Linked DNA regions of Homo sapiens: regions 2, 3, 4, 5 and 6 are each linked to region 1. The links are contacts of gene promoters, found by promoter capture Hi-C in blood cells and fetal thymus (Javierre and others, 2016). All regions are on one chromosome and are shown on one strand. Each heading gives the region's core, a stretch centred on a gene start or on the middle of the fragment in contact. The rest is flanking DNA. Distances are from core to core; before and after follow the strand shown.

Region 1 (2,834 bases), core at 123-2,622:
AAATATTGGTACTGAGAGGTGGGCTTGCTGCTGCAACAAATACCTAAAAATGTAGCAGTCTTTGGAACTATGTAATGGATAGAGTCTAGAAGAGTTTTTACATGTATGCTAGGAAAAGCCTACATTGCCATGAATGGACTGATAAGGACAATTCTGGTTAGCGCTCAGAAATAGAGAATAAGAACTGTAGAGAAAACATCAATCTTGTTAGAGCATACCTAGGTAGTCATGATCAGAATGTTGGTAGAAATATGGACAGTAAAGGCCATTCTGAAGACCTCAGTCAGAAATGTTGAACATGTTATTGGAAGAGAAGAGAGCTTCTTGTTATAAAGGGACAAAGAATTTGGCTGAATTATATTCAGGTGCTAGTGTTTTATGGAAGGTAGAATTTGTGAATGATATAATTGTTTATCTGAATTAATTTCTAATCAAAGTGTTGAAGTTGCTTGAATCATCTTGACTACCCGTAGTGAAAGGCACGAAGTGAGGAATGACTGAAATAATTATTAATTAAAAGGGAAACAGAACTAAAATTTTTAAAAGTTTACAGCCTATCTACTTTGGAAAAAAAAAAAAACAGGAAACCTGAAGAATACAAGGGTATGGTTAAGCAACTAACTAATTCATGAATTTAGTATGGATTGGCCATGTCAACTGAAGCCAGGACCTATTGTCCAAGACAATGGAAGAATGACCCCAAAGGCATTTCACAGATTATGGCAGCTTCTCCTCCCATCACAGGCCCAGAGTGCAAGGACCTGGGGGACAGAAAGGGCCTTTGATGCCAGATATACCCTAATATATTAGGCACAGTTTCCTGCCTACTACGATTGAGCGTGTCAATAAATTTTTATCTCTTGGGAGGGCAGAACAGAGCAAGGATACAGCTGTAACTGGTTTAGAAATAGCAGTCACTCAATTTTCAGAGAAGTGTTCCTCATACTGTGGTTGGCACAGTCACTTTATCTAAAGAAAACCATGAAAAGTATTCTTTTTTAGTTTAGAAAAATTGATATAGAACATGAGACTCCATTTTTTTAAAATAAAAATATAGGTTGATAGGCCAGAATTCACAGGTCCACCTGCCTGAGCCAAAATTCTCACGCCTCCACAGAGCAAATGGACTCCATTTCCCAAGATACCAGCGAAACGCCTGCGGGAGTCTAATTGCCCGGTCGATGCGCAGGAAATTTGGCTCCCGCAGGCGTTTCGCGAGTAGCTTGGGAGGCGTGGGAATTTTGGCCCAGGCAGGAGGACCTGTGAATTCTGGGAAGTGGAGTCCATTTGCTCTGTGGAGTCGTGGGAACTTTGGCTCAGGCAGGCGGATTCGGGGGATTCTGGGAAGTGTAGTCCAGACGCCTGTGGCATCATCGACACTTCCGGTCTCCGAGCAGGACACTGCTACTTAACAAGGTGGTTTGAGCCAAGTATGTGTCTTGCGGGTCTTTGCGAAAGTGAACCAGTTATTAGGGGCGCCTAACGACCTGGGGGGTCAACTAAGGGGGTAAGAAGCCCTGGAGAAGACCTGAGGTTTGGAGATGCGAGGGGTGGGAGGGAAGTTTCGTTGCCGTCGATGGAGCCTTCTGGCGTTGGGGGCTGTACTCAGGTCCACCGGAGGAGTCGTCGGGGGTTCGGGGGGGGCGGGGAAGAACTCTGTCTAGTCTTGTGTGCCTGTTTAGAGGGTTTTCCAGGTGTTTGACCTCGTTCAGTCCGCCTCCCTCCACTCTTAAGTGTGCGACCTCTTTCTCGCGATATAACGTGGGGTGTTACTTAATCTCCCTGTACCTCCCATTGCCGTTTTTTAAATGAGGATTTCAGGACCATCCTGATAGAATTGTTTTAGGAGTTGAAAGTTGTGGTATAAAACAAAGACTTAACAGCTCCTGTCACTTGGTGTCCTGTTAATTTCCCGCGAAGTGGTCAGGTGCCCGGGTGGGGTCAGAGCTCCAGCTGCTCCGGCCCTTCTCTTGGAGCCCGGCAGGGCTCTGGATGATCCCGGACGCCTCTGACCTCTTTTTAGGAAGGCGTGGGTTGCATCCACGTTTCACGAAGGGAGAGGAGCATTTAACTTGTATCCGGGACGGCGACGCAGAGTGTTTGACAGCTTTCTCCTTCCCCAGCCTGACTTTTCTAAAAGAGCTGCAGGGAGGGACTTGGCTACTGAGGACAAAGCTGTCTACACGAGTGGTCTTTGGCTTTTCTCTTTTTAAAAAAAAGTTATTTATTTTGTTAGTCTGTTTTTATTATTGTTATTATTTGAGAATGAGGTTTGCTCTGTCTCCCAGGCTGGAGTGCAGCAGTGGCGCGATCTTGGCTCACTGCAACCTCCGCCTCCTGGGTTCAAGCGATTCTCTGTCCTCAGCTCCGGAGTAGCTGGGATTACAGGCATGCGTCACCATGCCCGGCTAATTTTTGTATTTTTAGTAGAGACGGGGTTTCACCATGTTGGCCAGGCTGGTCTCGAACCTGTGGTCCTAAGTGATCCGCCTGCCTCGGCCTCCCAAAGTGCTGGAATTACAGGTGTGAGCCACCGCGCCGGGCCGGTTTTTTCTTTTACAGAGATGTTCACCTCAACCAAGAGTGTATAGGATGTGTCCTTGGGCATGGGTGTTGATAATAATTAAACCTTAATTGGTAACTTAATTCTAAGGGCTTTATGGAAATAAATACATTTACGCCACACCATGGCTCTGTGGAAAGGTATTGCTCTTTTTCTTTTTTTTTTTTTTTTTTTTTTCCTGAGACGGAGTCTCGCTCTGTCGCCCAGGCTAGAGTGCAGTGGCGCGATCTGGGCTCAGTGCAATAGGCCGCCTCCCAGGTTCAGGCGATTC
Region 2 (2,967 bases), core at 131-2,630, 7.1 Mb before region 1:
TAGTGGCGGGCGCCTGTAGTCCCAGCTACTTGGGAGGCTGAGGCAGGAGAATGGCGTGAACCCGGGAGGCGGAGCTTGCAGTGAGCTGAGATCCCGCCACTGCACTCCAGCCTGGGCGACAGAGCGAGACTCCGTCTCAAAAAAAAAAAAAAAAAAAAAAAAAAAGAAATACTAAATGGAGTTTTTCGAGAAGAACAAGATCTCAGATGAAACAGAAAGAAATTTAGGCCAGGCACAGTGGCTAATACTAGTAATCCCAGCAATCTGGGAGGCCAAGGTGGAGGTTCATTTGCATCTAGGAGTTCAAGACCAGCCTGAGCAATATAGCAAGACTTTGCCTCTACAAAAAATCAAAAATTAGCTGGGCGTGGTGGCGCACACCTGCGGTTCCAGCTACTCAGGAGGCTGAGGTAGGAGGATCACTTGAGCCTGGGAGGTCGAGGCTGCAGTGAGCCATGATCATGCCACTGCACTCAACCTGGGTGACAGAGTCCCTGTTTCCAAAAAAAAAAAAAATTAGTAGGGAAAGAATAGCAATAGAAAGAGTAAGTATGTGAATATAAATGAATATTGACTGCACAAAGTAATATACTGCCCTCTGGGGTTTTGAATGTATGCAGAATTAAATAACAAAAATAAAGCAAAAATGAGGATGGAGGTAAATGGAGTTAAAGTGTCCCAAGGTCCTCTAGCAGTATTGGGGAAATGGTAAAGTCAATAATTTGTCCTAGACTAAAAGAAAGAGGAATGCTGTAATCTTTCAGGTAATCACTAAAAGATTTTTAAAAACATGTACAACAAATTGACAGAAAAAATGGATCCACCTTTGGCTTTGCAGAAAATGACAGTGCAATATGACAGCACAAAGATTTATAAAGAACCTAGATTCTTTTTTTTTTTTTGAGGGGGGTGGTGGGAGACGGAGTTTCACTCTTGTTGCCCAGGCTGGAGTGCAATGGCATGATCTCGGCTCACTGCAACCTCTGCCTCCCGGGTTCAAGCGATTCTCCTGCCTCAGCCTACCCAGTAGCTGGGATTACAGGAATGCACCACCACACTTGGCTAATTTTTGTATTTTTATCAGAGACGGCGTTTCACCATGTTGGCCAGGATGATCTCGAACTCCTGACCTCAGGTGATACGCCCATCTTGGCCTCCCAAAGTGCTTGGATTACAGGCATGAGCCACCACACCTGGCCCCAATCTTATCTTTATCTGGAATATGATATATTTCATTTACACATTCATTGTCCACTTCCCCAACTAGAATGGTATACTCTGTGAGGACAGGAAATCTTGGCTGTTCTGTTCACTGATATTTTCCTAGTGCCTAGAATAGCACCTGGCACAGATAAGGAGCTCAATGAGGCCAGGCGCAGTGGCTCACGCCTGTAGTCCCAGCACTTTGGGAGGACGATGCGGGCAGATCACAAGATCACGAGGTCAGGAGATCGAGACCATCCTGGCTAACACAGTGAAACCCTGTCTCTACTAAAAATACAAAAATTAGCCGGGCATGGTGGCAGGCGCCTGCAGTCCCAGCTACTCGGGAGGCTGAGGCAGAAGAATTCTTGAACCCGGGAAGCGGAGGTTGCAGTGAGCCGAGACAGTGCCACTGCACTCCAGCCTGGGCGACAGAGCGAGACTCCGTCTCAAAAAAAAAAAGAGCTCAATGAATATCTGCTGAATGAAGAAATACAATGGTTGACAGGAACAGGAAATAGGAACTTTCATACATTTCTGGTTGGAATAAAAATTAGTTCACCATTTGTGGAAGGTAAATACTTACATAGCCTCTGTGTTCTAACTGCATTTCCTTAGATTCTCTATTAGTCTATTTGGCACTCGTTCATCAAGAGGCCAATTATATTAACTATATTTTCTTATTTTCTGTATTCTTGATGCTCTGGCATTTGGGGACCTTACCAAAAACAGGGAGAGGCTGCTCCTCTCAGGGCTAATTCCTAAAGATAATCACAGTTTTCCAATGAGCACAGCTTACATATGCAAACCAACCAATCCTGAGTCTATACCTCTCTGATATTGTGATGTAATAAGAAATATGTATTTTGGTCTTTATCCATGCCCATGGTTCTTGGTTCATGGGTCCTAAAACCCTTGTAGTTTCCTAAACAGAGTATTTTCTGTTAAAACACTTGTTCTTAGCCAAGTGCGGTGGCTCACACCTGTAATCCCAGCACTTTGAGAGGCCAAGGCAGGCAGATCATGAGGTTAGGAGTTCAAGACCAGCCTGGCCAACATGGTGAAACCCTGTCTTTACTAAAAATACAAAAATTAGCCGGGTGTGGTGGCGCACATCTGTAATCCCAGCTACTCGGGAGGCTGAGGCAGAATTGCTTGAACCCGGGAGGCAGTGGTTGCAGTGAGCCGAGATTGCGCCACTGCACTCCAGCCTGGGCAATACAGTAAGACTTTGTCTTGGGAAAAAAAACAAAACAAAAAACAAAACAAAAACACTTGTTCTTTTGTCCTTGGTTATGTTCTGAATGTGTTCCCCAAAATTTATATAGTGAAACTTAATCGCCAATGTGTTAGATTAAGAAGTGGAGCCCTTCACGCCTGTAATCCCAGCACTTTGGGAGGCCGAGGCGGGTGGATCACCTGAGGTCAGGAGTTCGAGACAAGCCTGGACAACATGGTGAAACCCCGTCTCTACTAAAAATACAAAAATTAGCCGGGATTGGTGGCATGTGCCTGTAATCCCAGCTACTTGGGAGACTGAGACAGGAGAATCACTTGAACTGGGGAGATGGAGGTTGCAGTGAGCCAAGATCACGTCATTACACTCCAGCCTGGGCGACAAAGAGAGACTCTGTCTCAAAAAAAAAAAAAAGAAGTGGAGCCCTTAGGAGGTGATTAAATTATGAGGGAAGAGCCTACATAGATGGAATTAGTGCTTTCAAAAAAAGGATTGAGGGAATGGGTCCAGCCCTTCAGTACCTTCTG
Region 3 (2,764 bases), core at 21-2,520, 7.1 Mb before region 1:
AATATTTTCAGCTTTGTGGGCTATCCAAGTGTGTGATTGTAGTGCAAAGACAGTCACAGAAAACTTCTAGTAGTTTGAATGTGCTAGCCTTAAAAAATAAACAAGTCTTTCCAACTTGGATCCGGCAGAATGGCTCCCACAAAGAAGGGTGGTGAGAAGAAAAAGGGCCGTTCTGCCATCCACAAGGTGGTGACCTGAGAATACACCATCAGTATGCACAAGCGCATCCATGGAGTGGGCTTCAAGAAGCGTGCCCCTCGGACACTCAAAGAGATTCAGAAATTTGCCATGAAGGAGATGGGAACTCCAGATGTGCGCACTGATACCAGGCTCAACAAAGCTGTCTGGGCCAAAGGAATAAGGAATGTCCCATAACGAATCCATGTGCGGTTGTCCAGAATACGTAATGGGGATGAAGATTCACCAAATAAACTCTATACTTTGGTTATCTATGTATCTGTTACCACTTTCAAAAATCTACAGACAGTCAATGTGGATGAGAACTAATCACTGATTGTCAAATACATCAAATAGTTATAAAATTGCAAAAAAAAAAGAAAAAAAAAAACAAGTACCCCCCCGCACCCCGCAAAAATAACCCCACAACCTCACAAGAACTGCTAGCTCAAAAACAGAAATTTTTAAAAAGACTGGCTTAATAATTCTGGTTTAAAAATAGCTATACATCTTCCTCCTGATTTTATCAGTGCAAAATGTAAATTTTAAGATTATAAAAACTAGGCCGGGTGCTGTGGCTCACGCCTGTAATCCCAGCACTTTGGGAGGCAAAGGCAGGCGGATTACTTTAGCTTAGGAGTTCGAGACCAGCCTGGGTAACATGGCAAAATCCCATCTCTACAAAAAATACAAAAATTAGCCGGTCATGGTGCCGTGCACCTGTAGTCCCAGCTACTAGGGAGACTGAGGTGGGAGGGTCACTTAAGCCTGGGAGAGGCGGGTGTGGTGGAGGTTGTAGTGAGCCAAGATGCACCACTGCACTCCAGCCTGGGCAACAGAGCCAGACTCTGTCTCAAAATAAAATAAAATAAAATAAAATAAAATAATAAAAACTATACAATTATGTGTTAAACCAAATCAAATTATAGTTCTGTCAGACTTTTTGACATCCAAGTAACTGTTGGGCCGGGTGCAGTGGCTCACGCCTATAATCCCAGCACTTTGGGAGGCCAAGGCGGGTGGATTACTTGAGGTGAGGAGTTAGAGACCAACCTGGGCAACATGGTGAAACCCCGTCTCTACTAAAAATACAAAAATTAGCTGGACATGGTGGCGCACGCCTGTAATCCCAGCTACTTGGGAAGCTGAGGCAGGAGAATCGCTTGAACCCGGGAGGCGGAGGTTGTAGTGAGCCGAGATCACGCCATTGCACTCCAGCCTGGGCGACAGAGCGAATCTCCATCTCAAAAATAAAAAAGAAGAAGAAGAAAAAAAGTAACTGTGTTGCTCTGTAGTGTGTCAGTTTAAATACAGTAGTCAAGATTTTTAGTCAACTTCAAGAAAATGGACATTAAGTAAGAAAAATTAATAGATAATCCTCGAAAACCTGGATGATTTCTAACATAAGGTATTAAAACATTGATTTCTAAGAATAGTTTTAACAAATATGCCATTATTATTTAATATGTATGCCTTGTTTTTTATGTTAGAGGATGGCTATACCTTTGGGTAATATAAATAAATACATGTGGTTTTGTTTTGTTTTGTTTTTGGGTCAAGGGTAATTTTAGTTATAGTATGTGCAGGGCACAAATGTGCAAAAGGGCATTTCTGTCCTTTTTATAAAGGCTTATAAGGAATGTGGGTGGCTATTGGGGGAGTGGTATCACATGTCAGGAGTCTGTTAAAATGTTTATATATCACAGTTCTCAATTACCTACCTCCCACATCTTTCTTTATAATTTGAGTAGTTGAGACTATCTGGGAATAATCATAACAGAAATGTAATAGATATGCTTTTGTTATCAAGGAAATTATAGGTTGGGCACGGCGGCTCAGACCTGTAATCCCAGCACTTTGGGAGGCCAAGGTGGGTGGAACACCTGAAGTCAGGAATTCGAGACCATCCTGGCCAACATGGGGAAACCTCGTCTCTACTAAAAATAAAAAAATTAGCCGGGCATGGTGGCAGGTGCCTCTAATCCCAGCTACTCGGGAGGCTGAAGCAGAGGTTGCAGTGAGCTGAGGTTGCACCACTGCACTCCAGCCTGGGCAACAAGAGTAAAACTGTCTCGAAAAAAAAAATAACAATAGTTTTGTCTTAAAAAAACCAATTGTTCCAAAATGTAAAACTGATACATAAAAAAGACATCTCAGTTTTGATGGGTTTATTTTCAATCCAGTATTTGAACTTGGGAAGAATATGTAAAAACACTCCTAAGTGACTATTATTAAGCAAAGATATGAAAATAGAAAGTACAAACTACAATACAAATAAACATAAGGCATAACACCAATGGGGATGCACATTAAGTAGGTAACAGGAAAGTTATAACAACATTTGTGTAATCAGGATATAAACTATGAATATATTGCTATAGGCAAGATACATACAGTGATTACGAGAGACCAGCCCTCAACTATCAGAAAAAGACATCAAGAAATACTTTTATAGTTTGATGTATCACAGAAAGACAAAACATACTATGCAAAATTTGAAGGTAGGTATCAGAAGAATGAAAGTAAGAGTTGAAAATGTATTATCTTTGATGAGAGGGACTGGGGCAGTCATGGTAGGAATGTATAT
Region 4 (3,005 bases), core at 71-2,570, 7.1 Mb before region 1:
GGTATTTAGTATAAATTCAGTGGTATTTGCTGTATTCACAATATTGTGCAACTATTGATTCTCTCTAGTTTTAAACCTTTTTCATCTGCCTCTAGAAATACCCTGTACCCAATTGAAGCACAAACTTTTAACTTGGATGAATTTAAATTGATGTATTCTTTTCTTTCATTGCTTGTGCTTTAGGTGTTAAATTTAAGAATTAATTGCCAAATCTGAGGTCATGAAGAATTAGAAATTCTGTTTTTTTGAAAGAATTTTATGATTTAGCACTTCTGTTTAGGTTGTTGATCCATCTTGAGCTCACATTTTATATTTGCATGTGTTTATCCAGTTGTCCCAATACCATTTGTTGAAGAGACATTTCTTTCTCCATTCAGTGGACTTACTATCCTTCTGGGAAATCTATTAGTCATAGATGTTTGGGTTTATTTCTGGATTTTCAGTTTTATTCCATTAGTTTACAAGTCTGTTCTTAGGCCAGTCCTATTGATTACTGTAGCTTTGTAGTAGTAAGTTTTACAATTGTAAGAAGAGAGTCCTACCTTTTCATTTTCAATACACATTGCAGTTCCATATGGATTTTGGGTACCAATTGCAGTTCCATATGGATATGAGGAGTGGCTTTTTTTTTTTTTTTTTTGAGTCAGAGTCTTGCTGTGTCGCCCAGGCTAGAGTGCAGTGGTGAAATCTCTGCTCACTGCAACCTCTGCTTCCTGCGTTCCAAAAATTCTCCTGCCTCAGGCTCCCGAGTAGCTGGGATTACAGGTGCGTGCCACCACGCCCAGCTAATTTTTTTTACTTTTAGTAGAGACAGGGTTTTACCACATTGGCCAAGCTAGTCTCAAACTCCTGACCTTGTGATCCACCCGCCTTGGCCTCCCAAAGTGCTGGGATTACAGGCGTGAGCCACCGCGCCCGGCCTTGAGTTCACATTTTATATTTGCATGTGTTTATCCAGTTGTCTCAATACCATTTTTTGAAGAGACATTTCTTTCTCCATTCAGTGGACTTAACTGGCCTTCTGGGAAATCTATTAGTCATAGATGTTTGGGTTTATTTCTGGATTTTCAGTTTTATTCCATTAGTTTACAAGGCTGTTCTTAGGCCAGTCCTTTTGATTACTGTAGCTTTATAATAGTAAGTTTTACAATTGGAAGAAGTGAGTCCTACTTTTTCATTTTCAATACACATTACAGTTCCATATGATTTTGGGTACCCATTGCAGTTCCACATGGATATGAGGAGTGGCTTTTTTTTTTTTTTTGAGATGGAGTCTTGCTCTGTTGCCCAGGCTGGAGTGCAGTGGTGGAGCTCGGCTCACTGCAACCTCCGCTTCCTGGGTTCTAACAATTCTCCTGCCTCAGGCTCCCGAGTAGCTGGGATTACAGGTGCGTGCCACCACGCCCAGCTAATTTTTTTACTTTTAGTAGAGACAGGGTTTCACCATGTTGGCCAAGCTAGTCTCAAACTCCTGACCTCGTGATCCACCCGCCTCAGCCTCCCAAACTGCTGGGATTACCGCCCCGCCTGGCTTTTCATTTCAAAGGCCACTGAAGTGTTAATAGAGATTGTATTGAATCTGCAGATTATTTTAGCGAGTATTGCCATCTTCATGTTAAGTCTTCTAATCCATGAACATGGGATTTTAATCTATTTAATCTCCAACTGATGTACTGCAATTCAGTTCTGGTACTAGCTGCCCAGAGTTAGTGTCAGACTCCATAGGTTTTAGCATACAGTCCCCAGTAAATCTGCCCTTACTTTAGGCCAACTAGCTACAATTCCAGGAAGTTCCCATGACTCCCTCCCCCTCCCCCCTTCATTTAGTAATTTACTACAACTCACAGAATTCAGGAAAGCACTACACTTAAAATTATAGTTTTATTATGAAAGATAAGGATACAAATTAGGAACAGCACAGTAAAGAGACACATAGAGCAAGGTCTGAAAGGGACCTATACACAGTTTCTATGCCCTTTCCTGGTGAAAGCAGGGTGTGTCACCCTCCAAACACATTGATATGTTCACCAGTAAGGAAGCCCCACTGAACTTTGGGGTGGAATTTCATTATGTAGGCATGATTGATTAATCATTGGCCACATGACTGAACTCAGTCTCCAGCCCCACTTTCTTCCTCAGAGACTGGCTAGCTAAAAGTATTTTTGATGACTGCCCCAATTCTGAAGCTACTCGGGTCCACCATGAGTTACCTCATTAGCATAAACTCAGGTGTGATCCATAGCAAAGACATGTCTAGCTCTGTGCTAGGAACCCTAGGACAAAGACCTGACAAATTATTACACAGGGCATAAACAAGACCAGGAGTGAATATGGCAGTGTTTTCTTATTTATTTAGTGGTTTCTTTTCTCTTGGATCATTTAGCTTTTTTTTTTTTTTTGAGACTGAGTCTTGCTCTGTCGCCCCGGCTGGAATGCAGTAGCGTGATCTCGGCTCACTGCAAGCTCTACCTCCTGGGTTCAAGCAGTTCTCCTGCCTCAGCATCCCAAGTAGCTGGGATTACAGGCACATGCCACCACGCCTGGTGTGCCACCATGCCTGACTAACTGTTTTGTATTTTTAATAGAGACAGGGTTTCACCATGTGGGCCAGGCTGGTTTCGAACTCCTGACCTCAAGTGAGCCGCCCACCTTGGCCTCCCAAAGTGCTGGGATTACAGACTTGAGCCACTGCACCCAGCCCATTTAGTTTTTTATTAATGATTTGAGAAAGATCTTATATTTTACCTGCTAGTTCTTTGACAGTTAAATGTTTTGTAAATATCATCACCCATTCTGTGGCTTGCGTCTTTTTAACAGATTTTATTCATAAGTGAGCTGTGAATCACGCTTATATTTTTACGCAACTTTGTTTTCCATTTAATTACTATTACCTTTTTGTCCATATATTTATCACTAATTTATATTCAAAATCTACTGGAAAATAAATCTTTTTCCAGTATGTTCTGTCAGTTTCTTGGGTTTAGAGACATCTCTTCTATGATCCT
Region 5 (2,700 bases), core at 103-2,602, 7.1 Mb before region 1:
CCTGGGTTCAAGCGATTCTCCTGCCTCAGCCTCGTGAGTAGCTGGGATTACAGGCACCCACCACCATGCCCAGCTAAATTTTTGTACTTTTAGTAGAGACGAGGTTTCACCATGTTGGTCTTGAACTCCTGACCACAAGTGATCTGCCCACCTCAGCCTCCCAAAGTGCTGGGATTACAGGCATGAGCCACCGCACCTGGCCTATGATTACAACCTTATTATAGTGAAAGGATACAAATTACAACTAGCCAGAGGAAGAGACACATAGAATGAAGTCTGAGAGGGGTCCAAAGATGAGTCTTCTGGTCATCCTATCCCTATGGAGTCCTGGATGGCATTACCTCCTTCCAGCTACAATGTGTACTGATAAGTGTTGCAATCCAGGGAAGCTCACCTTAGCCTTTGGTTTCCAGTGTTTTTCTTGGGGTTTGATAATATACTGCCCACATAGCTGACCTTTGTCTTTCTGCCCTTCTTGCTGGTTTGTCTAATACTGTTTGTCTGCCATTTCCCCAGAAGTCAAAACTGAGATAGCATGCCTCAAAGCACTCATCATAAATCATGTTATACTGTCGGGTGGCCATCCAAAGCACCCAGCCAAACCAAGACACTGTTATTGGGCAGGACATTCCAGAGGCCTAGAGTACCCCCAGTGGGCCTCCCAGTACCCAAGGTAAAGGCAAGACCTCTCTTTGGGTGAAGTTAATTTATCACTATACAGGAATATACTTTGACTTACTCATTCTTTCGTTGATGGGTATCTGTATTGTTTCTACAACTCTGGGAACCTTCTTATACATGTCTTTATGTAGACATATTTACTCTTTTCTATTGGCAGTATACTTCAGAATGGAATTGCTGAGTCAGAGATAGGCTATATTTAGTAAATGTCAGTTTTCCAAAGTGATTGTGCAAATTTACACTCCCACAAAGAATCTGTAAGGGTTTCATTTGCTGTATGTCCTCTTCACACTTAGTATTGTATAGTCATTCTAATGGGACTATACTAATGTATTAGTTACTAGAATTATATATAGAAATATTATATAACTATTATATAGTTATATAAGTATGTAGAAAGTTACATTTTCACTTCCAATGACTAATAATGTTGAATACCTTTTCATATGCTTGCTTACTAGCTTTTTTGATATCTTGTATGCAGGGTTGGTAAGACTTTGGCCGTTTTAAATGCGTATCGTGTCTTTTCCTTATTGCTTTGTGTGAATTCTTTGTGTATTTTGGATCTGATTTGTTTGCTAGATATGTATGTTGCAAATGCCTTTTGCTTTGTGGCTTGCATTTCCACTCTCTTAAAGGTATGGGTTGATGAATTGGAGTTTTTAATTTTAATGAACTCCTGTTTATCAACCTTTTTCTATATATGGTTAGAACTTTGAGTCTTAAATGTTTGTGTGCGTGTGTGTGTGTGTTTCATGCCTACAAACTTATGAAGGTATTCTCTTTCTTCCCCTAGAGGCTTTATTTCACCACTCACATCTTGCCTGGGATTACAGGTGTGAGCCACCGTGCCTGGCCTATGATTACAACTTTATTATAGTGAAAGGATACATATTTCAACTAGCCACAGGAAGAGACACATAGAATGAAGTCTGAGAGAAGTTTGGTGTACAGTATGAGATTTAGTGGGTCAAGTTTAATTATCAATACTGCTACGGATATCCAAGTTAATCCAGTGTTATGTAATGAAAAGTAAATTCTTTCCCCCCAGTTATATTCCAATTCTACCCGCCTCTCATCACCTTTCCTGATACCATCCTGATCCTAACCATGGTTATGTTACTTAGATGTTTATAATAACCTAATTTGTCTGTTTGTGTAGCTTTCAGGGCGTTCACAACAGCATAGCCACAGTGATTTAGATGATATCACTCCAAGAAAATTTGAGCAACAAATAAAGTGGTATTGGATTATAACCCGAAGTATAAAATAAATATCCATGCATTCATACTGATATGACTATATTATCAGATAAATAACTAAATAAATGGAGAAGAGATAAATCTCCAGTACAGAATTCTAAATAATTTATGTAGATATTCTGCCTTCAGGAAAGTGGAGCATAACCCCGCTCCTTAAGTACGTGCTGTGCATAGTGACTTCCAAAGATGACTGTATGGGAAAAGGGAGAAAAGACTAAATTTACACTGGAGAAACTTGACAAACACTCCCTCACTCAGGTGATCAAGACCAACAAAAAGTCATCATGCTGATAGTATGAATCTTTGATATCTATGAGGAAAATGGCACTTTACCTCTGTGATCTTCCTCCTGCAAACAACCTCAGTCTAATCATGAGAAAAACATCAGTCAGATCTTAGCGGAGGAACATTCTACGCTATACTGACCTCCTCAAAATAGTTAAGGTCATTTAAAATGAGGAAGAGGGCCAGGCCCGCTGGCTCATGCCTATAATCCCAGCACTTTGGGAGGCCGAGGAGGGTGGATCACCTGAGGTCAGGAGTTCGAGACCAGCCTGGCCAACATGGTGAAGCCCCGTCTCTACTAAAAATACAAAAATTAGCTGGGGGCCGGGCGCGGTGGCTCACGCCTGTAATCCCAGCACTTTGGGAGGCCGAGGCGGGCGGATCACGAGGTCAGGAGATCGAGACCATCCTGGCTAACACGGTGAAACCCCGTCTCTACTAAAAAAAAAAAATACAAAAAATTAGCCGGGCG
Region 6 (2,904 bases), core at 260-2,759, 7.4 Mb before region 1:
CATAAGAAAAAACAAAGAGAAGTGGCCTGGTGCGTTGGTTCACACCTGTAATTCCAGCACTTTGAGAGGCTGAGGCGGGAGGATCCCCTGAGGTTGGGAGTTCGAGACCAGCCTGATCAACGTGGAAAAACCTGGTCTCTACTGAAATAAAAAATTAGCCGGGTGTGGTGATGCATGCCTGTAATCCCAGTTACTCGGGAGGCTGAGGCAGAACAATCACATGAACCCAGGAGGCAGAGGTTGCGGTGAGCCGAGATCACGCCATTGTACTCCAGCCTGGGCAACAAGAGCGAAACTCCGTCTCAAAAAAAAAAAAAAAAAAAAAAAAGAGAAGCAAGCCAGTTTTATGTAATTATAAAAGACAGTATACATATATATCTCTTCTCCTCTTAACTGATATACAAATTTTATGAAACGTGTACTTATGTATTTATTGGGCCCATAACATACAGAAATGTAATATATTTGCTAATAATAACACAAGGCAGGGGAAAGCAAAGTTGTACTGGGCTAAGGAAATGAATCCAGATGGTAACTCGAATCCATCTGGACCAAATGAGGAGAACCCAAAGTGAGAAATCAGATTGATAAAATAAAAGTTATAAATGTATAAAGGTTCTCCTTTCTTCTCATTTTTTTTTAAAAACATAGACTTATATAAGGTAAAAATTACAACAACGATTGGTTGAGTTTGAAACATCTGTAGATATAATGTGAAGACCAATATTACTATAAGAGAAGATGAAAGGAAATAAGAGTTATATAGGAGTAAATTTCTCTATCTCACTTGAATTAAGCCAATATAAATCAGAAGCTGTTTCTGAAGTAAGATATTTGGCAGAATAAATCTCTAAGCAGCAAAGTGTTCAGGGTGCTGCTCGGCTTCTCTTAACTACTCAGAGTAAAATGTGAGAAGAAACAATACAAAGATGGGATTTATAACACGGAAGCAAAATATAGAGATTTGAAAATTCTCAGCCTAAGCATGTAAATAAAAAGGTATTTAGGAAAGTAAACCAAGGGTGTGACCAAGTGACTTTCTGATCAGAGTGTGGCTAGAAAGAAGCCAGGTGTTTTCATCATGACAATAGGAGAATGAACCCAATGGCACTTCAGAGAGCTTCAAGGCTGCTCCTCCCATCACAGGCCCACAGTGCGAGGGCCTTGAAGGCAGGATGGTTTCCAGGGAAGGGCGTAGAACACTCATGGAACTTTGGGGCTTGCTGCCCGGGGCTGCCTCAAGTCTCTGCTCCCCACATCCCGGCACAGTGCTCCTTGGCTGCCGTAGTTGTGGCTCCAGTGGGCCCAGGTGCAGTTTAGTCCCTGCTCTGGAGGGCAAAGTGGTGAACCTCAGCATCCACATGGTACTGATTTTGCAAGTGTGCAGAGTGCACAAGATGTGGAAGCATGGCATCCTTCAAAGAGATTTCTTTTTTTTTTTTTTTTTGAGACAGACTCTCACTGTATTGCCCAAGCTGGAGTGCAGTGGTGCGATCTTGGCTCACTGCAACCTCCGCCTCCCCGGCTCAAGCAATTCTTTTGTCTCAGCCTCCCAAATAGCTGGGATTACAGGCACGTGATGCCTTGGAGAGCCTCAGGGCCTAGACAGAGACCTACTACAGAGGCAGAGCCACTGCAGACAGTCCCCCCTAGGGCATTGTCCAGTGGAGTCATACAGGCTGTGCCACTCCCCAAACCCTAGACCTGTAGAGCCAGCAGCATGCAACATGGGCCTGGGAGAGAGCCAGTGGCACCTGACTGCAACCTATGAGAGCTGCAGTATGAACTGTGCACACCAAAGCCATGGTGGCAGGGACCCTTCGGGCCTTTGGGGTCCAACCCCCATCCCAGTGTGTCTGGAACATGCGACAAGGAGTCAAAGATGATTATTCTCCAGGCTAAAGGTTTATTGTTGTTTGCCCTGTTCAGTTTTGGACCTACTTGAGACCAGTGACCCATACTTTCTTATTTATCTGTTTTGGAATAGAAATGTCTGTCCTGGCCGGGTGCAGTGGCTCATGCCTATAATCCCAGCACTCTGGGAGGCCAAGGCAGGTGGATCATCTGAGGTGGGGAGTTCAAGACCAGCCTGACCAACATGGAGAAACCCCATCTCTACTAAAAATACAAAAAAATTAGCCAGGAATGGTGGTGCATGCCTGTAATCCCAGCTACTCGGGAGGCTGAGGTAGGAGAATCGCTTGAACCTGGGAGGCGGAGGTTGCGGTGAGCCGAGATCGCACCATTGCACTGCAGCCCAGGGGAAAAAAAAAAAGAAATGTCTGCCTTATTCCATTATTATTCCATTGTAGCTTGGAAGCACGTAACTAGTTTGGTTTCACAGGTACAGGACTAGAGAGCAATTTGCCTCAGGATGAATCACATGATTTAGATAATACCTAGATGAGACTCTGCCCTTTAAGTTGACTTTAAAGTTTATGCTGAAATGAGTTTTAATACTTTGGGGGCTATTGGAGTGAAATGAATGTATTTTGTACATGAGAAAGACATGAATATAGGGGGGGTCCAGGGGCAGAATGTAACATGTCCTCTCCAAAATTCAGGTGTTGCCAATGTGATAGTATTAGAAGGTGGAGCCTGGCCGGGCGCGGTGGCTCATGCCTGTAATCCTAGCACTTTGGGAGGCCGAGGTGGGCGGATCACGAGGTCAGGAAATCGAGACCATCCTGGCTAACAGGGTGAAACCCCGTCTCTACTAAAAAACTACAAAAAAATAGCCGGGCGTGGTGGCAGGTGCCTGTAGTCCCAGCTACTCAGGAGGCTGAGGCAGGAGAATGGCAGGAACCTGGGAGGCGGAGCTTGCAGTGAGCTGAGATTGTGCCCTCCAGCCTGGGCGACAGAGCAACACTCTGTCTCCAGAAAAAAAAAAAAAAAAAGAAGGTG

The links. Contacts are between HindIII fragments. The CHiCAGO score rates a contact against its expected background, and 5 or more counts as called.
Region 2: a contact is called between a fragment that was not itself captured here and the fragment with the promoter of ZNF155 in region 1, in 1 of 17 cell types (naive CD8 T cells). The highest score is 8.8, in naive CD8 T cells.
Region 3: a fragment that was not itself captured here is called in contact with the fragment with the promoter of ZNF155 in region 1 in 1 of 17 cell types (naive CD8 T cells); the score reaches 6.9 in naive CD8 T cells.
Region 4: a contact is called between a fragment that was not itself captured here and the fragment with the promoter of ZNF155 in region 1, in 1 of 17 cell types (non-activated CD4 T cells). The highest score is 6.4, in non-activated CD4 T cells.
Region 5: a fragment that was not itself captured here is called in contact with the fragment with the promoter of ZNF155 in region 1 in 2 of 17 cell types (naive B cells and non-activated CD4 T cells); the score reaches 9.4 in naive B cells.
Region 6: a fragment that was not itself captured here is called in contact with the fragment with the promoter of ZNF155 in region 1 in 3 of 17 cell types (non-activated CD4 T cells, total CD4 T cells and activated CD4 T cells); the score reaches 6.1 in non-activated CD4 T cells.

The regions. Positions count from the first base shown.
Region 1 is chr19:43,982,816-43,985,649 of GRCh38, forward strand. It overlaps ZNF155 (zinc finger protein 155), which reads left to right and starts at 1,373. Exons shown (of 5, transcript NM_198089.3): 1 at 1,373-1,430. RefSeq lists a silencer at 1,070-1,269. The HindIII fragment of the contact is 8,717 bases long and covers 1-2,834 here.
Region 2 is chr19:36,844,910-36,847,876 of GRCh38, forward strand. It overlaps a transcript of ZNF790 not described here. Among named protein-coding and RNA genes, the nearest start is that of ZNF345, 4.5 kb to the right of the region's middle. The HindIII fragment of the contact is 5,910 bases long and covers 1-2,967 here.
Region 3 is chr19:36,901,613-36,904,376 of GRCh38, forward strand. All of the region lies in intron 5 of ZNF829 (zinc finger protein 829), which reads right to left. It also overlaps the pseudogene RPL31P61. Among named protein-coding and RNA genes, the nearest start is that of ZNF829, 13 kb to the right of the region's middle. The HindIII fragment of the contact is 3,676 bases long and covers 1-2,764 here.
Region 4 is chr19:36,867,381-36,870,385 of GRCh38, forward strand. All of the region lies in intron 2 of ZNF345 (zinc finger protein 345), which reads left to right. Among named protein-coding and RNA genes, the nearest start is that of ZNF345, 18 kb to the left of the region's middle. The HindIII fragment of the contact is 6,931 bases long and covers 1-3,005 here.
Region 5 is chr19:36,884,156-36,886,855 of GRCh38, forward strand. It overlaps a transcript of ZNF345 not described here. Among named protein-coding and RNA genes, the nearest start is that of ZNF829, 31 kb to the right of the region's middle. The HindIII fragment of the contact is 3,615 bases long and covers 1-2,700 here.
Region 6 is chr19:36,559,954-36,562,857 of GRCh38, forward strand. All of the region lies in intron 2 of ZNF529 (zinc finger protein 529), which reads right to left. Among named protein-coding and RNA genes, the nearest start is that of ZNF529, 12 kb to the right of the region's middle. The HindIII fragment of the contact is 5,321 bases long and covers 1-2,904 here.